Regions from separate parts of the Homo sapiens genome. Here all the other regions are linked to region 1. The links are contacts of gene promoters, found by promoter capture Hi-C in blood cells and fetal thymus (Javierre and others, 2016). All regions are on one chromosome and are shown on one strand. The core of a region is centred on a gene start or on the middle of the fragment in contact, and the rest is flanking DNA. Distances in the headings are between cores, read along the strand shown. Region 1 holds the start of PRR19 (proline rich 19). Region 2 overlaps LNROP (long non-coding regulator of POU2F2). Region 3 overlaps POU2F2-AS2 (POU2F2 antisense RNA 2). Region 4 overlaps POU2F2 (POU class 2 homeobox 2).

Evidence for each region. Contacts are between HindIII fragments. The CHiCAGO score rates a contact against its expected background, and 5 or more counts as called.
Region 2: a fragment that was not itself captured here is called in contact with the fragment with the promoter of PRR19 in region 1 in 16 of 17 cell types (total CD8 T cells, naive CD4 T cells, naive B cells and 13 more); the score reaches 22.1 in total CD8 T cells.
Region 3: a fragment that was not itself captured here is called in contact with the fragment with the promoter of PRR19 in region 1 in 11 of 17 cell types (naive B cells, total B cells, neutrophils and 8 more); the score reaches 14.2 in naive B cells.
Region 4: a contact is called between a fragment that was not itself captured here and the fragment with the promoter of PRR19 in region 1, in 17 of 17 cell types (naive B cells, total B cells, naive CD8 T cells and 14 more). The highest score is 35.1, in naive B cells.

What each region holds. Positions count from the first base shown.
Region 1 is chr19:42,300,882-42,303,581 of GRCh38, forward strand. It overlaps PRR19 (proline rich 19), which reads left to right and starts at 1,251. Exons shown (of 3, transcript NM_199285.3): 1 at 1,251-1,622. It overlaps PAFAH1B3 (platelet activating factor acetylhydrolase 1b catalytic subunit 3), which reads right to left and starts at 1,743. Exons shown (of 5, transcript NM_002573.4): 1 at 1,351-1,743; 2 at 1,069-1,158. The coding sequence starts at 1,428. RefSeq lists enhancers at 1,218-1,267, 1,348-1,477, 1,430-2,084 and a silencer at 1,638-1,857. The HindIII fragment of the contact is 26,667 bases long and covers 1-2,700 here.
Region 2 is chr19:42,136,585-42,139,284 of GRCh38, forward strand. It overlaps LNROP (long non-coding regulator of POU2F2), which reads left to right. Exons shown (of 3, transcript NR_038332.1): 3 at 88-515. It also overlaps a transcript of POU2F2 not described here. Among named protein-coding and RNA genes, the nearest start is that of MIR4323, 4.4 kb to the left of the region's middle. The HindIII fragment of the contact is 4,330 bases long and covers 1-2,700 here.
Region 3 is chr19:42,153,686-42,156,385 of GRCh38, forward strand. POU2F2-AS2 (POU2F2 antisense RNA 2) reads left to right here. Exons shown (of 2, transcript NR_186341.1): 2 at 2,022-2,700. It also overlaps a transcript of POU2F2 not described here. Among named protein-coding and RNA genes, the nearest start is that of POU2F2-AS2, 2.5 kb to the left of the region's middle. RefSeq lists an enhancer at 1,309-1,837. The HindIII fragment of the contact is 3,776 bases long and covers 1-2,700 here.
Region 4 is chr19:42,104,625-42,107,324 of GRCh38, forward strand. The region is part of intron 5 of POU2F2 (POU class 2 homeobox 2); the gene reads right to left. Among named protein-coding and RNA genes, the nearest start is that of POU2F2, 26 kb to the right of the region's middle. The HindIII fragment of the contact is 5,797 bases long and covers 1-2,700 here.

The DNA.
Region 1 (2,700 bases), core at 1-2,500:
TCGGCTCATTGCAATCTCTGCTTCCCAGGTTCTGGCGATTCTCCTGCCTCAGCCTGCCAAGTAGCTGGGACTATAGGCATGTGCCACCATGCCCAGCTAATTTTTGTATTTTTAGTAGAGACAGGATTTCGCCATGTTGGCCAGGGTGGTCTCGAACTCCTGGCCTCAGGTCATCCGCCTGCCTTGGCCTCCCAAAGTGCTGGGATTACAGGCGTAAGCCACCACACCCTGCCTAGAGTCTCTCACTTTAAACCAAGCCCCAGGCTCTGTTGCTCATGCTGAGGTGGGCGGACTGCTTGAGCCCAGGAGTTCAAGACCAACCTGCGCAACAGGGCAAAACCCCATCTCTACAAAAATTACAAAAATTAGCCAGGTGCATGGTGATGTGCACCTGTAGTCCCAGCTACTCGGAGACTAAGGTGGGAGGATCACTTGAGCCCAGGAGGCAGAGGTTGCAGTGAACAGAGATCATACCACTGCACGCCAGCCTGGGTGACAGAGCAAGACCCTGTCTCAAAAACCAACCAACCAACCAACCAACCAACAAAACAAACCAAGCCCCATAGAAGCAAGACTCACTTCATGAAAATCCAGTCTGCTTGAGCCATGCATTGAATCAATGGCATTACAGTTGAAACTTATTTTGATGAAACCCATTACAGTTGGACATGCTTTGTGGAAAGATATTATTATGATTGAGTCCTCTTTGTGGAGTGCCATTAGAGTTGCCCTTCGCTTCCTGTAAAGTGACTATAGCTTTGTGTAAACCCAACAGGGCTGCGCACTACTTAAAGCAAACAAGAAAGAGCCTCACTTTAGGCAAGCCTATGGCAGGAAAGCCTCATTTTAGGTCTTAGTACATTATACACAAATCCAATCTGATAAAACCAAGGCATACATTTCTTTCTCAATAGAATGTTGCACCTTACACCAAGATTCTCAGAGCCTCGGGCTGCCTGAGGCCAATCTGGGTACTCTCATAATACCTCACCTGGCCTGGGTTCTGGTCCAGATGTGTCAGCATGGACACAGGGCTGGATGGGGCAGGGGGAGAGGGACTGCCCTCACCTCGCACTGGTGCATGAGCTGGACCAAGGAGTCCCCGATGAAGACGACTTCGGGTTCCTTATCTTTGCTGTCAGCCACGAACCGATGGTGCTGCGGGAGCGCGCGAGAGGGAGTCAATGGCATGCACGCTCCAGGGCCCGCCCCGCCCTGCTCCCTTAGGCAGCGCCTCCTCAACTGCCCTCAGTTTCCCAATCAGGTAGTGAGAGTGGCACGAACCAGCCGTTCTCCTGAGCCACCCCCCGCGCCCCCGGACTCCTCAATATCCCAGGTGGGAACGCTCACCAGGGACATCCAGCGCCCGTCGCCCTGTACGTCCTGCACCGGCGTGGGCTTGCTGGCTGGGTTCTCCTCTCCACTCATCTTGGCGCCGCAGCTCCTGCAGGATGAGCGAGTCGGGTCGGCCCGGGAGTGTTCCGAACGGAGCTGGCTCCGCCACGCCCACTCCTACCCCTCGCGGCAACAAAGGACCGTCCCAACGCTAGCACACCCGCGGAGGACGAAGGCCGATACAGGGCGCCGCCTCCTCTCCAGGGACGGAAGCCTTCACTTAGGAGGTAGGTGGAATCAGGAACCTTCGCTTCCCCCACGACGGCCGCACAGTGGGCTCGCCCGGCGCTTCCCGCTCGGGCCGCTGACTCCCAGGCCGCGCACCCGGCACGGGGTGGGGGGAGGGAGAGGCGAGACCATCCAGCTCCCGAGGCGGGGAGGAGGGAGAAACCACCCACCGGTCACGGGGAGGGGCGAACTACCTGAAGAGTCGAGAGTGGGCGGGGAAAATCTAGCCCTCTGTCTAGCAAATGGGAAGAAACCATTTGCTGTACAGAGTGAAATGTGCGGAAGGGACCACCTACTGTTGCGGGGGGGGGGGTGACCCATTCACGTGGTGGGGGGAGGGGAGCGAGTGGACGAGTCCATTCTTATATTCCCTTGAAGGGGTGGCTCGAATGCACCTGGCTGGGGGGGACGCTCCTATTTTCTACTGATGTGGGGGACAGAAAAGGAAGATGACAAAATGTGAAAATTCGAGGCTCCCTTCTAAGGAGCCACTCTAAGGCCGCGCCAGGGCTTTAGTGAGCCTATCTACTCGTGGGCTTCCCCTACTCAAAACACCGTGGGTGTGTGTGTGTGTGTGTGTGTGTGTGTGTGTGTGTGTGTGTTGAAATCTAAAGTACATATCTTTGCATTCAAGACATCACAGGACCCCTACTCAAAACACCGTGTGTGTGTGCGCGCGCGTGGCATAACATATAAACTACATATCTTTGCATTCAAGACACCATAGGACCTGCTTGGAGGGTAGAAGAAGGTGCAGAAAGAGAAAGGAAATTAGAGACGCCTCCAGGGCTCAGGTCCAGTCTGGCGTCCCTCCGGCAGATCATCTTGCAGATCTGCAGCCTCTACACTCTCTCTAAACCCACAGGCCAACTGGGTATGTCTGAGCTCTGAAACCTACATCCATAGCCAAGGCCACCTAGGGTCGCGCCTCTCCCCCAACGCTGCCCCAAATTAATCTCAGACCTCAGTGTCTTCTCAGATCTCCCTCTTCTCTGGGACCAGGTGGGGGGCTCACTCCCTGCTAAACGTCCTGGTCATGTTCTTGTAGCCTCACTCCAGGTGGGACCTTCCCATGTA
Region 2 (2,700 bases), core at 6-2,505, 160 kb before region 1:
GCCTCAGAAAGGTGAAGTCTCCTGCCCCAAGTCACACAGCATGAGTGGTGGAGTCAGGATTTAAGCCCAGGTCTGTCCCCCTGACAGCTTGATCTCTCTGTACTGAGCCATGGAGCTCCTTCTTGGAGGCGTGAAATGCTCCCCATCCTTCAGGAGACAACAGCAACAGCCAGCCACTCCTTGTCCAGTCAGCAATGCTGGAATACCTCTGCAGCTCACAGTCCAACGCCCACAGCCTTCGAGTCAGTTTCTTGATATTCGGCAATGCACTGGACTCCTGATCCCATCAGCTCCTGGCTGAAGGTGGGCCAACCCTTCCCCATTTCCTTCAATTCAAACATTTCCTCATGTCCCTCAGTGCCAAGCCCTGTGCTGGGAGCTGAGGACCCAGAGGTGAGCTAGATCTAAAATCTGACCTCAAGGAGCTAACAGTCTGAGAGGAAGACTGGAGTGGATAAAAATACCTTGGTAATTTATCACTTAATAAATATCCAATAAATGCTATTATGTGCCAAGCCATTGCTAAGCTCAGAGAATACAGTGGTTAAAAGCAACCCATAGAGCTTATAGTCTTTGGGGGAGAAATAATTTTTAAAAGTTATCAACTAGCAGGGCATGGTGGCATACCCCTGTAGTCCTGGCTCCTCTGGAGGGTAAAGCAGGAGGATCACTTGAGCCCAGGAGTTCAAGGCTGCAATGAGCTATGATGGCACCACTGCTCTCCAGCCTGAGTGACAGAGCAAGACTCAATCTCTAAAATAAATAAATAAATAAATAAAATAAAAAATAAAAAGCCATCAAATAAATATGTAATTCTAAGTTAGGAAAAGTGATTTCAAGAATAGGTAGAGGAGGGGCTGGGCATGGTGGCTCACACCTGTAATCCTGGCGCTTTGAGAGGCTGAGGTGGGAGAGTTGCTTGACACCAGGAGTTTGAGACCTGTCTGGACAACATATCGAGACCCCATCTCTACAAAAAAAATTGTTTTAACTTAGCTGGGTGTGGTGGTGTGCGTCTGTAGTCCCAGCTACTCGAGAGGCTGAGGCGGGAAGATTGCTTGAGGTCGAGGCTGCAGTGAGCTACGATCATGCCACTGCACTCCAGCCTGGGTGACAGAGAGAGACCCTGACTCTTAAAAAAAGTAGAAGGAGGATACCTGATGTAAACAAAGGATGGCATGTTGCAGAAAACTGTCCCAAGGAAGTGACATTTACATAGCAATTAGACACAGTATTCTCGAGGCAAAGAATGTGAAGGAAGACACTCCAGGCAATGGGAACAGAGGAGGCGATGGCCCCATGGAAACAAACAGTGTGGCAATTCCAGGATCAGAAAGGAGGCCTATAGAGCTGGAGCAGAGTGAACAAAGAAGAGAAGATAGGAGACGAGGTGTGAGGTGGAGAGGCGGCCAGGGCCAGATCGCACAGGGCCTTGCAGGCCAAGGTAAGAATTTGGGACTTCAAGAACAGTGGGACACCTGAGAAGGTTTCAAGCAGGGGAGTGGCATGGTTCTATGAACACTTTTGTGACAATCCTGGCTGCTTTGGAGGCCGCAGTGAAGAACCAGAGGATGGAGTGTGGGGGTCAGCGTGAGGAAGCTGATGAATTCCACATCACCATCAGGTGATGATGACAGGAAGCAATAATTGGTGATTGGCTGAATGTGGGGCATGGGAGTCACGGAGAAGTCAAGAATGAGGTCCAGGTATGTTAAAGTATCTTTCCTGGCACAGAAGATTGGGGCAGGTGGAAGAGCTTAAGCTCAGGTAAGAAAGATCAGGGTAGGACCTGAGGTCCTGAAGGATGAAAGGAAGGGCAGGAGGTGGGAAACAGCATTCAAGGGGGTTGCCAAGGTTGAAGACCCCAAGGTGGAGACAAACTTGGCTTTCCCAAGTTTGTCCTCAAGTTCCTTTGAGGTTGGATTTGAAGTTGCAGGTGGAAGGCTTCTGCGCAGAAGCATTCTGTGTAAGGAAGTTCTACTGGGGACAAATGTGGGGACCGGCTGGTAGCATGGAATCTGGAGACAGGATGACCAATGGGGAGGCTGGGACAGTGGTCCAAGGCGGCAGGGGAGAAAGGAGCCATGAGGATTAGGATGAGGATACATATTCAAGCTGGAGTCTACAGGAACAGGATATGAGAAGTGGGTGCTGGGCTGGGGTGGCTGGGTGGATGCGAGGCCATCACTGAAAGACACAGTGAGAAGGGAAGCAGGGGGAAGACACTTGGGTCAGTTCCAGGGGGAAAGTCAGGAAGCAGCATCTTCCAAGAAGCAAGGTCTGTGGACCAGAAGTCAGCAGATGCTTAACAAATTCACATGGATACAAACATTCCTCATCATATCTCCCCACCACAGCCAATTTTCCACATCCACCAGAATTCCCAGTTCGCCTCATGTAAGAAAAGAAGCACTGTGATGTGGCTCAAAGAAGATAAAAGAAGACTAACTGGCCGGGTGTGGTGGCTCACACCTGTAATCCCAGCACTTTGCAAGGTCGACGAGGGCGGATCACCTGAGGTCAGGAGTTCAAGACCAGCCTGGCCAACATACAATAAAACCCCATCTCTACTGAAAAATACAAAAATTAGCTGGGCATGGTGGCGCACGCCTGTAGTCCCAGCTACTTGAGAAACTGAGGCAGGAAAATCGCTTGAACCCAGGAGGCGGAGGTTGCAGTGAGCTGAGATCACACCACTCT
Region 3 (2,700 bases), core at 77-2,576, 150 kb before region 1:
TGTGTGCCGATGGTCGAGTGTGTTTCCACAAGTGGGCTGGAGGCTCTGGGTGTGTCCCTGTGTGTGTCATGGTGACTTGGTGTAGACGGCACGGTGTATGTGTGTAGAGGCTACAACCCTGAGTCTCTGAGTGGGGGAGGGTGGCGAGGCAGCAGGGGCTGCCACGGAGACACTGGCTAGCCGGTTTTATCACTACATCATCTCCAAATCCCAATGTCAGGGCCTGCCTGCCTTCTTTCCCTTCCCTGCCAGAGACCCCAGACCCCTGCCAGGATGGGCCCAGGCCCCCGTCCCTCCCCCGGCACCTTGGGCAGGCTGTACCTCTGCTCCTCAACACCCCTGCTTTGGTGGATGCCACCTCAACTCCACCAAGCGACCTCCGTCCCTCCCAACCCCCCCAGCGCCACCCGCTCCCCCCGCCCTCCCCCCACCACAAGTCCAGTCCAACCCAGACAAAAGCAATTACTCCAGAGGTAGGATGTGAGTGTGGGTGTTAGAAACAGGAAAAAAAGGGGGGGACAGGGAGGGGGAGCGAGAGAGACACAAACAGAGGCAGGGATGGACAGCCAGAGACCCCGAGAGACGACAAGAGAAAGAGAACGGCAGAGTGAGAGACAGAGGCACACGCAGAGAGATGCACAGAGAAGCAGAGACAGAAGATGAAAGAGACTGGAAGGGACACAGACACCAAAACCAGGAGGCAAAGGCAGAGAAAAAGAGCAGAGGAAGGGCAAATGCAGAGAGCACGACAGAGAGAGACGCAGAGACAGTGACTGGAGAGACGGAGAGAGAAACAGAGAAAGAGCACACAACAGAGCAGAAAACCCAGTGATGGAGCCACACAGAGAGAAGACGCAGATAAAGAGAGAACGGGGGCCAGAGGCAGGGAGAACTAGAAAGGGGGCAATGCACAGAGAGGAACAGAAAGGCTGAGTGAGAGTGAGAGAGAAAGGAGACCAGAGAGATAAAAGGCAGACGGCAGATAGTGGTGGAGGGGAGTTGGTAACCCACTAGAGACTCTGAGATGGCAAAGCTAGAGAGAAACTGAAAGGGGATCACGTCCAAAGTGATGTCTCTCACACACACACACACACACACCTTTCTCCCCATTCCCCAGGCCAGAAGTCAGGGATGCTCAAGCCTTTTTCCACGTTCCTCTGGGCCCCTGTGAGCCACGGTGGGGAGGGGACAGGGTGAATGGACAGGGATGATCTCAGGTAGCTTCAGGGACCAGCCAGAGCCGACTGGGACCTGATCACATGGGTAGGGAGAGCAGTACATCCCTCCTTACCACACACCGCCACCTCACCCTCCACACACAGTCCACACACACCAGGGCCTTGGCCAATTTCCTCGTACTCTGCCAGGCATGGCCAGCCTGGGGGGTGGGGGGCCAGGTGTGAGGTCCTTCCTTCCTGCCCCACAGTCCTGCCCACCTGCCTCAGCTGCAGCTGCCCCGCACTGTTTTTTCTTTCTCATTGTCCCCTGCCTTCAGCCCGGCTGCCTTCATCTTTCTCTGATGCACTCTCATGCGCTCAGCTCGCATGCACGCGCCCTCTCTTTCTCTCTGTTCCTTTCTGTCTCTGAGTCCCTCACTCTGCTTTCCTGCCTCTGACTTTTCTGCTGTTTCCTCTTCCTCTTTGCTCCTCTCCGTTGCTCTGTTCCCCTCTCTGTGTTTCTGTCATGAGGTGCATGCTCCCTGGGTCTCCCTCTCCCTCCACTCCCATCTGGTGTATTCTGGATTCCCCTTTCTTAGACAATCCCTCTGGCCCTCCTATCCACCTCGTCCCCAAGAAAAGCAAGGTTGGGCACAGTGGTCCTAGCCTGTAGTCCCAGCTACATAGGAGACTGAGGCAGGAGGATTGCTTGAAAGTTTGAGAAAAGCAAGGGTGGATCACTGTGTAAAGGACCTCAGAAGCTGTCCTGGAGTGCTAGGAGTGGGTGAATACTTCCTTTCTTGTTTTTCCCTCAATCACCTTTTATCCTCCTCTCTTTCCTACCCCACCTCACACCCACCCCAGGCCGGATCTCTGGATCTCCCCAGCCTCCAGATCTCAGTGTGGCTCTCTCTGGAGACAAAAGCTAAGACTCAACCCACAGGCAACACTCAACACAGAGATCCAGCTCAGAAAAAAAGGAGCTGACCAGGGAGGAATGGAGAGGCCAAGACACATAATGAAGACTAAGAAAAGGAAGAAAGATGATGCTGGGGCTGGAGCCAAAGGGAGAGGAAGAGGAAAGGAAGGAAAGCCAGGGGCAGAGACCTGGCAGGGCAGCGTGAGCCCAACAACCACGGGGTGGGGGTGGGGCGCGCATCAAGATTTCTAACAAGCGCAGCTGAAAACACCCAGGGCCGTTCTCTGAGGCCTTCTCTCTGCCTACCAGCCCTCACCAGTGCTTCGAAGAGCCCTGAGGAACGTCTCTCTATTTGAAGTCAGAGCCGAGTGCCTGCTCTCGGCACCTGGGGCTCCATGCTTACCAGGATGGTGGGTACTTGACCTTCATTTGCTGTGGGACTGTCAGGGATTCCAGGGACCCACTGGTCCCCGAACTGGCTCAGAGATGCAAGCCATTTTTACCTCCTACACATCTATAATCCCCACCCCATGGCTGACAAATATTCCCAGTCCACAGCTGTCTCCACCCACCCAGTGACAGAGCACAGGCAGCCAAAAGGATCAAGCAATCTCTTGCCACCTC
Region 4 (2,700 bases), core at 75-2,574, 200 kb before region 1:
GAGGTGGTACTGTTTGTGTCACACACAAAAAAAGAGTATATCTGGATATTTGCTTGGGTATGCATAGTTGATGTCTGGAAAACCATACCAGAAGGCCACGCTGTAAATCCATTCATACCTCTGGGATTTGAAACATGTACCTGGTCTGAGTAAATAAATATCCCAGTGTCTCACCCCCACCCACCCAAACAGTCACTGCTGATCAACATCCCTGCTTTTCGACAGCTGAACACTATTCCCTGACCCCCTGGGGGTGCCTCTGCTTATTCCGTGTATGGCAGTGGACTGGGTACTCCTGTGCTCCTGACCTCTCTAACTCTTGCTGCTAATCATCTCAGAATCCAGCTTAAGGGTTCTGAAGTCCTAGCACTCTATCCTGTGAAACAATGTCCACCCTGCCTTCCCTTTCCCAGCTACCCCCAGCCCAGTAACACCTCCATGGTCACCTCCCTCCAGATGTGGATCAACTGTGAAGCGGGCAACACTTATGCTTCAGGGCCCCCCATTTACAGTGAACCCTTTCAAGGCCCCATACCTAATTTTTGTTTCAAACATTGTCTTTTTCTTTCAAAGGGACTCCAAGTTGCATAATCTTTTGGCCCCACAAAACGAGACCCACCTGCCCTGTGCTACACGTCTCCCAAGTCAATGCATTTGCTTATGTGTACTTTTCCTCTGCCAGACTGACTCTAGCAGACCAGAGGCATATCTTATTCTTCGTATATCCCTAACTCATATCGGAACCTGGTAAGCCCCCATTAAATGCCCACTGAATTGAATCTAATGAATAAGACTAGAAATCAAGTCTTATTACCAGCATTTTTCTGATTTCCTATAACCCTTAGCTTGTTGATTAAAGTATTTGTTAACTCCTGTTCCTCCCTAGCATGACTCTCAATGAAAATTCCCCTTTCCTCCAGAAGCCTAGAGAGGTGTCTGTGGGTTTCGTTCTGAATCACCAGCGAGAGGAAAGAATGGGGAAAGTGCATCCCAGTTTGCAGAAGGTCTCATGGTGAGAAGTTCAGATGGGAAACATTTAATCACATCCCTGTCTAGTTTCTCAGACCAGAGACTTAGGGGTCAGCCTTAATCCCACCTTCCCTTCCTCTCCCCATCCATCCAATCCATCTGCAATGCAAGTCTTCCCAGTTCCCTCTACATCTCTTCCTGTCCACAGTGACTGTCCTGGTCCAAACCACCATCCTTCTACCCCAGACCATCCATTCGCCCCCAGGCAGGCAGAGAGGGGTCTAAAACAATAGAGGTCTAAATGTTTTTGTGCCCTGAATTCTTCAGCATCTGAAAAAAAAAAAAACCTATTGCCCTCTTCTCAGAATTAAAAACACATAACATATGATATATAGGATCTTTCTTTTTTCTTTCTTTCTTTCTTTCTTTCTTTCTTTCTTTCTTTCTTTCTTTCTTTCTTCTTTCTTTCTTTTTCTTTCTTTTCTTTCTTTCCCTTCTCTCTCTCTCTTTCTTTCTTTTTTGAGATGAGATGGAGTCTCCCTCTGTCACCCTGGCTGGAGTACAGTGGCTCAGTCTTGCTTGGCTCACTGCAACCTCTGCCTCCCGGGTTCAAGCAATTATCCTGCCTCAGACTTCCAAGTAGCTGAGGCTACAGGTGCACCCACCATGCCCATGCCCAGCTAATTTTTGTATTTTTAGTAGAGAAGGGGTTTCACCATGTTGGCTAGGCTGGTCTCAAACTCCCGACCTCAGATGATCCACCCACCTCGTCCTCTCAAAGTGCTGGGGTCACAGGTGTGAGCCACCATGTCCAGCCAGATATATAGAATTTCAAATGAAATCAATCACATAATTATAGTCATCATCACTAGGGACTCCAAAGGGAGGGAGAAGGGCAAAGGCTGAAAAACTTCCTACTGGGTACTGTGTTCACTACTGGGTGACAGGAACAATTATACCCCAAACCTCAGCATCCATGCAATATAACCCTTGTAACATACCTACACATGTATCCCTGAATCTAAAATAAAAACTGGCTGGGCACAGTGGCTCATGCCTATAATCCCAGCACTTTGGGAGGCTAGATGTGAGAATCTTTTGAGCCCAGGAGTTTGAGACCAGCCTGGGCAAGATGGCAAGACCCTGTCTCTACAAAAAGAAAAAAACAAGAAGGAGGAAGAGGAGAAGGAGGAAGAGGAGGAGGAGGAGGAAGAGGAGGAGGAGGAGAAGGAGGAGGAGGAGGAGCAGGAGGAGAAGGAGAAGGAGAAGGAGGAGAAGGAAAATTAGCCAGGCATGGTGGTGCATGCCTGTGGTCCCAGCTACTCAGGATGCTGAGGTGGGAGGATCCCTTGAACCCAGGAGTTTGAGGTGGCAGTAAGCTATGATCACACCATGGCACTGCAGCCTAGGCAACAAAGGGAGACACCCGTCTCCAAAAAACAAAATAAAATAAAATAAATTAATTAAAATTTGGCTGGGTGCGGTGGCTCATGCCTGTAATCCCAGCATTTTGGAAGGCCAAGGCGGGCGAATCACTTGAGTTCAGGAGTTTGAGACCAGCCTGGCCAACATGGTGGAACCCCATCTCTACCAAAAAAATACAGAAAAAAAATTAGCCAGGTGTGGTGGCGGGCGCCTGTAGTTGCAGCTACATGGGAGGCTGAGGAAGGAGAATCACTTGAACCCAGGAGGCAGAGGTTGCAGTGAGCTGAGATCACACCACTGCACTCC